Regions from separate parts of the Homo sapiens genome. Here region 2 is linked to region 1. The links are contacts of gene promoters, found by promoter capture Hi-C in human tissues and cell types (Jung and others, 2019). All regions are on one chromosome and are shown on one strand. Each heading gives the region's core, a stretch centred on a gene start or on the middle of the fragment in contact. The rest is flanking DNA. Distances are from core to core; before and after follow the strand shown.

Region 1 (5,351 bases), core at 1,781-4,280:
AAGGCTATACCCTCAGGCTGCCAGAAGGGCAGAGTTCCGCAGCTGAGGTTCAGCTCTGAAAACCCACCATCCTGGTGGTTCCCTTTTTCCTAATAAAAAATAAAGTTACATTTTAAGAAACCATCAGAAGCTCTATTTTAAATTCGTCCTGAAAGCATGTGATGCAGAAATCAGGCCACCACACTTTGACTTTGAAAATATTTTATTTGAATAGTAAATAGTTATACAGTTGAAACAGTTCTATTGAAGCTTTCTATAAATAGCTAACAATTAAGAAAATAATGTATGTAGAAAAGAGATTGCATTTAAAAGTAAGAGCTGTCGGTTGTACAAGGGCCCTGGGGACCCTCGAAGCAGAATAAATGATAGGTTGTCTGTAATTCACTCAGATAGGTATAAAAGTTAAAACTTTAAGCAGATCCCTTTAGAAAAAGGCTCTCTTCTAAAACGCACAGTGGAATGTCAAGAGTGGCAGGGTGGGGAGGGGGCAGCGCGCCAAAAAAATCTGCAATCAAATAATATCATAATCTTCATAATTAATATAAATAAATAAAGAATAAATAACAATTACTCATAAATCAACATATACATTTAGAGGGAACTGATAGTCCTACCTCAACAAAGATGATCAAACCAAAAAGTCTTACGTGAAACACTGAGGCAGTTACTACAGCATCTTCGGAACACTCCCTTCCCTCCCCCCACAAAACAATCCCAGACAACAGTTCAAGGCATTTGTGGCTATACTAAAGAAAACTCTTTTTTAAGCAATTTGATTTGTTCACATACAAAAAGGTAAAGCCAGACTCCAGCAGTTCACAAGCCATAATAAAGCTAATCGTGTGGGAAGTTCAATTTACAGCCTGTGAAATATAAAGGCATTTATTCCTCAAGATTCACCCAAAACAACCCGTACGCTACATACATAGAGAGCAGAGATTGGTAGGCGAGGCGAGACCAGACCGCATTTCTAGACCATGAACACAGCGAATACTAGCAAGAAAAAAAGCTTCTCCCCGCCAAGGGGAGGCTTCCAACCACGAGACAAACGCGTACAGCTTTTCTCCCTTGTACAGAAAGAGACTGACTCCTGTTGCGCCATGGGGGAGGCGGAGGGACACAACGTAAAAGTGGGGGTTCCAAAAGGAGTCAAAAGGAGAGTATGGGGTTACCGTCACGCCACACCGAGAGAAGCGGAGACGACACTTTCACCCGGTGGGGGCGGGGGCGAGGCTCCCCCAGCGCGGACTCGGGTTCGGGGAGTGCAGGGCGCACTCTCTTTGTGGGTCTCCAAGCGAAGGCACAGTTCGGGGGCCGGGGTGGAGGGCGCGCTCTAGCAGGCCGGGCGCACGGGCACCTGCAGGAGGATCACCTGTCTGTTTTCGGATGGGTGGCACTTGTTGATGTGCCGCGTAAGGCCGGGCGAGCTGTAGAAGGTGGCCGGGCAGTACTTGCAGGGGAACACCTGGGCGGCGTGCAGCAGGCGCAGGTGGCGCTCCTGAGCGCCCTTGCTGGCGAACGACTCTCCGCACACTGGGCACAGGTGGCACTCGGCGGACGCACTCAGGCCCAGCACGCCGGCCCCCTCGCCGTCGCCGGCCGCCTCCTGGGGCGCCTTCTCGTCGGGCCCGGGGTACAAGGCCAGTAGGTCCTCGGCCGGGGGCGCTAGCGGCGCGCCCTTGGCCTGCAGCGCCTGGTGGTGCGCCAGCAGGTGCTTGCGTAGGTAGGCCTGGCGGCGGAACTTCTTGGCGCAGTGATGGCACTCGTAGAGCCCGTCCTCGGAGCCCGACTCGGACACGCCGCCGGGGCTCGGCGTGTCCCGGTCGCTGCCGCCGCCGGGTGCCTCCCGCGCCTCAGCCCTGGCTGCTGCTTCTGGCTCCGGCGCGCGGGCGGCGGCGGGCGCGGGCCGCGGTTTGTGCCAGCGGCGGTGCGAGGCCAGGTTGGCCGGGCAGCTGAAGACCTTGGCGCACTCGGGACAGCGGTACTCCACACGCACGATGCGCGAGCATTTGTGCTGCGCCAGCGCGAACGGGTCGGCGTACTCCTCCTTGCACAGCTGGCAGATGAACTCGCCCAGCGGCCGCGCCGCGCCCCCCGCGCGGCCCCGCGGCGCCTCCACCGGGCCCTCCTTGATCTTGAGCCCCAGCACGGGCGACGTGGTCACCTCGTCCTCGAAGTGCAGCTTGCGGATGGCCTTGGGCTTCTTGGCGCCCGGGGCCTTGACTGCCTTGGCGGGCGGCTCCGCGGCGGTAGGGGGCGGGGGCCGCTTTCCCGGGGGCCGCAGGGCGGCGGCAGGGGGCAGTGGGGGGCCGGGGCCCGGGCCGCGGGCCGCCTCGGCGCCAGCCGAGAACGCCGTGCCCATCTTGAGCTCGGCGGGCGCGAAGAGCAGCGGGTCGCCGCCGCAGGTGCCGCCTCCGCCAGCTCCGCTCGCGCCGCCGCCGCCGCCCCCTCCGAGCAGCGCGGCGGGCGTGGGGAAGGACTCGGCCGAGACCGGCGAGCCCAGGTTGAAGCTGCGTTCGAAGTACTTGTGCTTCTCGTGCTCGCGGCTCACGGGCCGCGTGGGACTGTAGAGCGGCGCGGGGTGCGCAGCCTCGGGGTTGCCGAAGTGCGCGGCCCGCGGGCCCTGCGGGGGTGGCTGCGGCCCAGGCGCGCAGGCAAGCGCGGCGGCGAGCGCTGCATGGGCGCGCTCCGCGGGCGGCGGCGGCGGCAGCGGCCCGGGGACCGGGCTCGGCGCCGGGGGCTCGGCGCGGGCGCCCCCGCAGCTGGGCGAGAGCAGCAGTGCGCGGTCGCCGTCCTCGCCGCCGCGGACCCGGTAGGAAACGGGCGTGGACTTCTTGCTGCGCTTCACCAGGAAGCCGCGGGGCATGTTGGCGCGGCCCGAGGGCACGGCACTGGCTCGGTCCCCCCTCCGCGCTCGGCCCCGGCGGCCCTCAGTGCCCCCGGCCCATTGCCCGGGCGCGGCGGCTGCGGGACTCGCGTGGCGCCGGCGACGGCTCGGCCCAGCTCTGCGCCCTGCACGCGCGTCCCTGTCCCCGGGCCCGGCAGCCGCTCCCTTTTAACGGGGGGAGGGGGCCATTGTTCTCGCCTCCCGCTTCCCCTGGAGCCAATCAGCGCGTCCGCAGCTCCTCAGCCTGGCAGGGTGGGAGGGCGATGGGGCGGCCAAAAGGGGGCCGGGACTCGGGGGTCGCCCGGTAGGTGCGGCAGATGTACCTGAGGGCGCGGGGCCCCCGCGCGCGCCCCTGGTCGCCCCGCCCGGCGCCGCCGCCCCGCCCGGTCCAGGCACACGCCCGGCCCCGCCTCCCTTCACGGTCTGCTGCTTCTCTATGGGGAGGCGCACGTGCCTGGGCTTTGTGTCTCTCCTCCGGGGGGCGCGGAGCCGCCAAATGGGCCCGTCCATCAGCGCGACAATGCACGCCCCCCTCCCGCGCGGGGATTACCCGCGGGTCGCTAGCAAAATAGCAACAAAGGAGAAGAATGGCCCCAAATATGTCAGGAGGGTTCAATCCGCGAGCCGGAGCCGAGGGGGAAGTTGTGCGCGCTGATTGGGTGGGGGCGGGGGCGCGCCGGGGCGGTGCGGGGGAGATCGTTGCGGAGGCGCAGTGGCTCCGCGTGGTGTTTGGGAAATAAACAAGAATCCGAGAGAGCAGCAGGGTCCGGACGGCCTCCGCCCGGACCTTGGACGGATGGGCCGCTGGACCCAAGAGGCCAAGCAAAAGGGTTCCCCGGGGTTCCAAGTGTGGACAGGGGGCCCGGCCTTCTGGCAGTGGCCGAGGGCGATGTTTGTGCTCGCAGCCTCCGCGCGCCCACGGGGCTAGAGAAGGTTTCTTTCGAGTTTGAGAAGGAATTGGCACGGCCTTCTCAGTCTCCCGAAAGCGCGGGATTGGAGCGCGGGCGGGCTGGGCTGGGTTCCCAGAGGAACGTGAATTTCTGAACTTTTGGGTTCTTGGAGGCTTGGGAATGGCATCTTTGGCGGGGCCCGACCCAGGCCGCCCGGAGCTTCCGCGTGGTCCAAGGCTCGGTTAATCCGGGTCGAGTTGGCCGAAGCCCGAAACGCGCGGTCGGCCTCGTGCGCCCCAGTGAAGTTGGCTTTCTCCTCCCCGCGCGGCCTCATGCATTTTCATTCCGAGCGGGCATTTTGTTTGCCGGTTGACATCAGATGCTAAATCAAGGGCTCCAATCAAGGCGCTGCGAAATAAAGGGGCTGCCTGTCTGGGCGCAGCCCCCACGGAGCCGTGCCCCCTTCACCTTTGTGAAGGAAATTAACCTCCTGCTATTGAGCTCCGGTCGCGGCCAATCTGGACGCAAAAGAGACGCGTGCTGGACGGGGGGAGGGGGGGCAATCTGTACTCTGAGGCAGGCTGAGGCCTCCGAGAGGACAAGCCGCCTCCCCTGTGCCACCAGGAAGAGACAACAGCGAAGATTCCCCCCGCCCCCACCCCCACCCCCACCTCCGCTGCCGTTCCGTTTGGACCCAGACTGGGCCGCCTGCCTCCATCCTCTGTCCAGCCCAGCCCCGAGGAAACACAAAAGGCAGAATCTTCGGGGGACAGGGCAGAGAACCCCACGAGTGCGTAGTGGCCCTGATCGTCCAACACTGGGGAACAAATAGCCAAGCCACATAAAATGTCATATGCTGTGAGGAAAATGTCACTTTATTGAAAGAGAAGGAAACATTTTTCTGCAAAGCTTTGTATACCAGACAGATTTTGCTGAGTTTTACTTACGCTTAATTCCACTGAAGGTATTTAATTGTTTTGGATTTTCCCTCTGAAAATACCCTGGCGTAGAAATTAAACATGTAAAAATAGAGTCCACATGAGTCATAAGTTGTGATGGGGACAGTTGTTAGGCTTAATTAATTAAGGGGTTAATCAGGTTGGTTAATCAAGGGAAAGATATTTGATAATTTTATGTTTGTAATATTTTAACTCACACACTGAAAAGGGAAGAATGCATATAGTGAAATATATTTTGAAAAGTCTCACCCTAGTTTTAAAAATGCTGTGGTGAGTGCTAGTCTCCCCAAAAGTTAGAAATCTTAAAATGAGTTTATCTAAAATTTATAAACATATTTCTATCTAAAAGTAACTGATGTTATTTCCTTGCTCTTTTGAGCTCTGATTAATAGTGCTGATGAAATTAGAAGTGGGAAAAGGATTCCGAGACAGCTTTGGCCAATTTTATTTTCTAATCACGAATCCCATCTGGATTGTAGAATAGCATAGGGCGGGGGCTCGGCCTGCCCCATTCGGTCTTGCATATGTAACACTCCTTCCATTCAACAGATAACAGAGAGTTAGTCACCTTGTGAATCCTTTAAAAATAACAACACCCATAATTGTAAATAAGCC
Region 2 (5,717 bases), core at 858-3,357, 78 kb after region 1:
CACAGGATCTGTAAGCAGGATCAAATGGCTGTTTTATGCCACTAGGTGTTTTTTATACAGCAATAGAAACTGGAACACTATGATGATCTTATGGTTTCCTTTATTATAAGAAAATGTTGCATCAGATCATGTGTACAGGGCAACTAAAAGAATCTGGGAAAGGGCTAAGGGAAATAAGTTTTAAACATACAGCATCTACCCTTTTCCTGGAAGAACTGGGTTTCATTATTTATCTGGAATAATGATTAAAACAGCCATCTTCACCACTTACTGGCTACCTGTTTTGTTCCTGACAATGTTACTTTATGTATGCTCCCCAGCAATCCCAGAAATGCAGATGCTGAAGAACTTGTTCAAGGTCCATGGGAAGGAAATGGAATAGGATTGAGATTTCCTGAAGGGTGAAGAACCCATAGCCTGTGCCATTTGAGTAGGCCCCCATTTAAGGATTTTTCCAAGAGCTTCTGCTTACATCTCATTGGCCAGAACCTGCCACATGGCTGACCCTGTCCTTGAGGAAATCTGGGAAATGTGTTTATTTTAGGTTGGTCATATTGTTTACCCTCAAAAATATTCAAGAGAAGAAAATGGGAATGGAAGTTAAGTAGACAGCTTCCAATCTGCCTCATTGATTAAAAATCAAACGTGACATATCCAAAAGGAAGCCCCCAGATGACAACACACACCGGGCTGGGACTATGGGTCAGAGAATCTTATTAGAGGAGCTCTTCAACTGACCAACCACCTGTGTCCTTTAAACAGCAGAATTCCCAACTGCACAGCTTCTGCTTTTCCTGGAGGGGAGGAAAACAGTGGGGTCTCCATGGCCATTCCAGATGCTAAGCAATCTACTTGCTCCATTGACATGAAAGTGGATATTTCAGTTATCTATCGATGCATCACAGGTTGCCTCAAAATGTAGAGGCTTAATGTCCTTCAGTAGGTGAATGGATAAATAAACCGATACAACCAGACAATAGAGGATCATTCAGTGCCAAAAAGAAATGAGCTATCAAGCCATGAAGAGATATAGAGGAAGCTTAAATGGATATTACTAAGTGAAAGAAGCCAACCTGAAAAGACGATAGGCTGTATGACTGCAACTATATCACATTCTGGAAAAGGCAAAGTGACTGAGACAGTATGAAGATCAGTAGTTGCTAGGCCTTAGGACAGAGGGAGGGACAAACAGGCAGTGCACAGAGGGTTCTTAGGGCAGTGAAGCTGCTCTGTATAATCCTGTAATGGTGGATATGTGTCATTATACATTTGTCCAAACCCACAGAATGTACACAACCAAGAATGAACGCTAATGTCAACTATGGGCTTTAGTTGATAATAATGTGTCAGTGTAGGTTTATTAATTGTAAGAAATATATCACTGGTGGGGGATGTTGATAGTGGGGGAGGCTATATGTCTTTTGAAGGGTTGGGGTTACATGGGAAATCTTTGTACCTCTGCTCAATTTTGTTATGAAACCAAAACAGCTCTAAAAAATAAAGTCTATTGAAAAAAGTAATGGCATAAAACAATAATAAATTTTTATTATCTCACGGTCTCTGGGAGTCAGAAGCTGAAAATGGCTTAGCTAGGGAGTTCTGGCTCAAGGCCTTTCATAAGTTTTCAGTCAAGATGTTGGCTGGGGCTGCAGTCACCTGAAGGCATGAAGGAGGCTGCAGGATCCACTTCAAGGTGGCACACTCGTCTGCCTGGCAAACTGATCATGACTGGTGCAGGAGTCCTCAATTCCTTGCCACATGGACCTCTCTAAAGGCGTCCCTACAGCATGGCAGCAAGTCATCTAGAAGTGTGCAAGCTGGAAGCTGTCGTATCTTTCTTGACCTGACCTGACCTTGGAAGTCACACAGTCATTTCCCCAATATCCTGTTGGCTACACAGGTCAGCCCTACTCAGTGTGGGAGGAGCCACACAAGGGCATGAAGACCAAGGTGCGAGAGTCACTAAGGGCCATCTTGGGGGACGATTACTCCAGTGGGCTTCTGATGTGTGAACCAACACATTACAGTAAAGACTCCAAGTAAAGAATTTCATCCTCTTATAAACAAAGTTTTGTATTTGAAAGTAAAATGAAATTCAGAAATAATACTTACATAATTAGGCTGTGCCATTTGTACCTCCAAGGGAGTTGGAATGGCAGGCTTGGCAATATGCAGATAATGGTAAGACCCAGGAAGAATGCCCCCTAGAAGAGATGGCAAGTTTTCCATTTAAAATTAATTGTTAATGAGGTGAGTAACAGAGCTCATATTTTCATCACAGGACAAACAGATGCCTGCAGTGGCGTATGCTCCTCAAACTTTCACACTAAAGTACCACTAACAACAAGGAACTCCCTGGGGTGGTTGACGTTTATTTAACCAAATTGATGTGAATGTGATATGATATCCCATAATGTAGCCGCCATTGCTCCAGGATGTGCCAAGCCGATCTTGTGTATCCTGTGATTATCCGGAGCTCCCCGCCCTTTAACCTGTATCTGCCAAAACCAGATCAAGACCTTTAGAAGCCTTAAATGTTGCAAACAGCATTCCTATTCCTCATCACTTCTCCAAAATGTAGCCAAAATATTAAAAAATTGAATTTAATTAGGACTATCAACAAAGTTCTTTGTTCAATGTTTTAGAAACTGTCATTATCGAATTCTTAATATTTTGGTTTGTTCCTGAGGTCTGGGCCTGTGCCAGCTCTGGCTTCTGACAGCCCTCCCTTCTCTTGCCTGCCTACGGCCACCACCTTTCCTCAGGTCTCACCCAGAGTGAGAAGCAGAGCAAGACCTTGTGGGGCTGCCTAGTTAGGAAGAGGAAGACAAGGATGGAATGTGGGGCTTTCGTCTCTGTAATCTGACATTCCATTGACTGGACTGGGCTTCATGGACACCCTGGGGGTCTATGTACAGCTTTGTGGGTTCATCTATAAACCTCCAGGAAGGGAACACGTAATTTTGTAAATATGTGCATTTTTCTGGTAAAAGGTCCACAACATTCAGAAACACCATTTTCAAAGGTATTTCTCATACCCTAAACGTGAAGGAACCCTGCATTACTCATGAAATCATCTCCTCCTTAGGGGTCAGAAGGGTTTATGGGATAAAAGTGCACTGCTTTACAGCTGCAAATGGTTAAGCTTATCCATCCCCAGAGCAGGCTGAGGCCTGGCTGCCTGGAAGGGTCTCCTTATCTCTGAACTTACAGAGAGAATGGAAGTTTTGGGTAAGATGTCAGGGCAAACCATCATTTTCCAGCTGTGAGACATCCAGACAAGTTAATAATCATTCCCTTGTCTGTTTTCTTATCTGTAAAGTGGGAACCCCATTTAGGATGTGGTCCATAGTAAATGCTCAAATGCAAAGAACCGTAATAACAATAATTCCAGGTTTGTAATAAATGCTTCAGAAATTATAGACCCTTTCTCTGTCTCTGTGGCAACCCATTGAGGTACGGAGGAGCCTTTTCCCCAAGCCTAAGAGAAACCTGGAGGACTGGCCTGACTGCTGAGCCATACCTAATCTGTGGCTTCATCAAGGAGAAGGAAGCCTACTCGTATACCTTGAATCTTGGCTCCCTTGTACATGGGGATGAGCCGGTCAAGATTAGCTGGTGGCTCGGTCACAGGCTCAAGGGTTGGATCAAAGAGATGTAGCATAGCTGCTGCCAGCTGAAAGCCAATTTCTTTGGAACTGAAGTTGCTGTGAGTCCACTCATTTGAGTAGTATCTATTGGAGAATTTGGTGAGGGAGCCAGCAGCTCTGATGGCTATGTCGTTGGTGTGGAAGTTGGTATCAATCACAAGTCGACTGTCATACACAAGACATGCATCATTGAGGGCTTTAAACGTTTCATAATCCACATTCTTCTCACAGAAGCTGAAGAACATCTACGAAGTGAACAATTACAGCAATATTCAGTTATCACTCTTCATTTTACCTTCCCAAAAGTGTGACTAGTCTCCAGGGCATTTTATTATTCGGGGCACAAAAATACACATACTAAAAGTTTGCTATCATGTTGTTTGTGTGCGTATGAGAGATAGATTGCCTTGGGCATGAAGAACCCATTAAGATCCCCAAATGTCACTCTTATTCACTCAATTCACTCATCCAGTGGAGAGAAGGATGCCAGGTGATGAAATATCTCCCACAAAAGTGTGAGTGGTTTTCGGCGGAAGAGGGTTTACATTTGTACAGACCCTGCCTTCCCCTCATGCTCCTACATTTTGAACAGCTCTAGCGCAGCCTCCATCCTCTTCCCCTTCCTGTGTCTGACACTCGGGTCTCTGCAGGTTCCTTCTTGGGTTGATCTCATCCAGTCTTCAGTTTTCAGACTGCCCATTGCTAGCTTTTAAAACTCAGTAAGCTTGTCCCTATATGATGCTCCAGAGAAGATGGATGCTTCATCAGTCTCTGTATCTACTAGGTCTGGGTTCCTGCCTTGTTGCTTCCTGCTCTCATACGACACAGAGTCATTCAAGAAATACTGATGGCATACCTACCATATGCCAGGCACTGTGTGAGGGTGCCATAAGCAGAGGGGCCACCAACCCCTTTGCATGCTCCTTAGAAATTATTTGTATGCCCTCTCCATTCTGTGCTCAAATTTCAATGCTTTCTCATGCTCATCTGGACATCGTCTTCCACACTGATGTTGAAAGTCACTGAAGCAGTGCAAGTTAGTTGTTTTTGTCTTTAGTTGTTGGACCAATTGAAACACGCTCAATTGATTTTATCTTTCCCTAAAATAGTCTGCCACTTTATTAAAAGCATGCTAAAAAATGAACATAAGACATGGGTCCCAACCATACTGATGGTCATCTCCCCACTTCCATCACATTCCTGCTTTACCCCCCTCAACTGTTTCATTCTGTATAGACATCAGCTGTCCTTGGGCAAGAGGTAGCCAGCCCCTTCAGTATTCCTGCCCCACACCCATGAATGGTTCAGGGAGCTTTCTGATTCTGTGGTAGCCACTAGTCATACAAGGCTATAAATATTTACATCTAAATTAATTTAAATTAAATACAATGAAAAATTCGGTTCCTCAGTTGCAATAGCCCATTTTAAGTGCTCAGTTAGCTATAGGTGGCTACTGGCTGCCATATTGGGCAGTGCAGATACAGCCTATTTCCATCTTGAAGAAGGTTCTATTGGACAGCAGCACTCAGATCCATCATCTCTATGATGTCCTTGGTCCTCCCTCAGGGAGATACACTCTGTGCCCTTGTCCTGTCTTTATTCACCTAGTTGTCTAATCCCATCCCAGGATGCTTCTTTCTTTCAAGTCTTTTTCTTTTTTTTTCTGTCTTATAACTCTTACCCAGTGGCCACAGGAAAATATATTTCTCTGAGTCTCTCTCTGATTCTGAATCTTTCTGTCTCCCTACACTCCTTTTTTGCTTTCTCATTCTCTTTCCCCATCTCTATAAAAAATAGATTTCCTACCCAGATAAATATATAGAAAGATATCTGATTTGAATTTAAATTATAAATAAAAACAGTGCTATCAACCTCTTGAGCCCTTGAAAATGTTTAGAAGTCTCCTTCAGCATCCTCACAGAAGTTCTTCTACCTACCCAATTTTCTTTCTCTAATTAAGCCTACTTTTTGTTAAGTAGTACATTAAATATACTAGTTCTTGTTTTTCTGGGTTTTAAAGGTTACCAGTATTGCAGTAATGTTTACTTATACACTTTTGGTGTAGGC

The links. The method cuts DNA at HindIII sites, captures the fragments that hold promoters and counts their contacts. A contact is called where the count stands out against the background at its distance.
Region 2: a fragment that was not itself captured here is called in contact with the fragment with the promoter of INSM1 in region 1 in 4 of the 25 tissues and cell types used here (H1 embryonic stem cells, heart right ventricle, spleen and 1 more).

Annotation. Positions count from the first base shown.
Region 1 is chr20:20,365,783-20,371,133 of GRCh38, reverse strand. INSM1 (INSM transcriptional repressor 1) reads right to left here and starts at 3,030. Exons shown (of 1, transcript NM_002196.3): 1 at 185-3,030. The coding sequence starts at 2,866. The coding sequence ends at 1,334. RefSeq lists an enhancer at 3,167-3,937. The HindIII fragment of the contact is 4,823 bases long and covers 630-5,351 here.
Region 2 is chr20:20,286,787-20,292,503 of GRCh38, reverse strand. It overlaps CFAP61 (cilia and flagella associated protein 61), which reads right to left. Exons shown (of 27, transcript NM_015585.4): 23 at 3,568-3,895; 24 at 2,113-2,204. Among named protein-coding and RNA genes, the nearest start is that of CFAP61-AS1, 22 kb to the right of the region's middle. The HindIII fragment of the contact is 3,307 bases long and covers 454-3,760 here.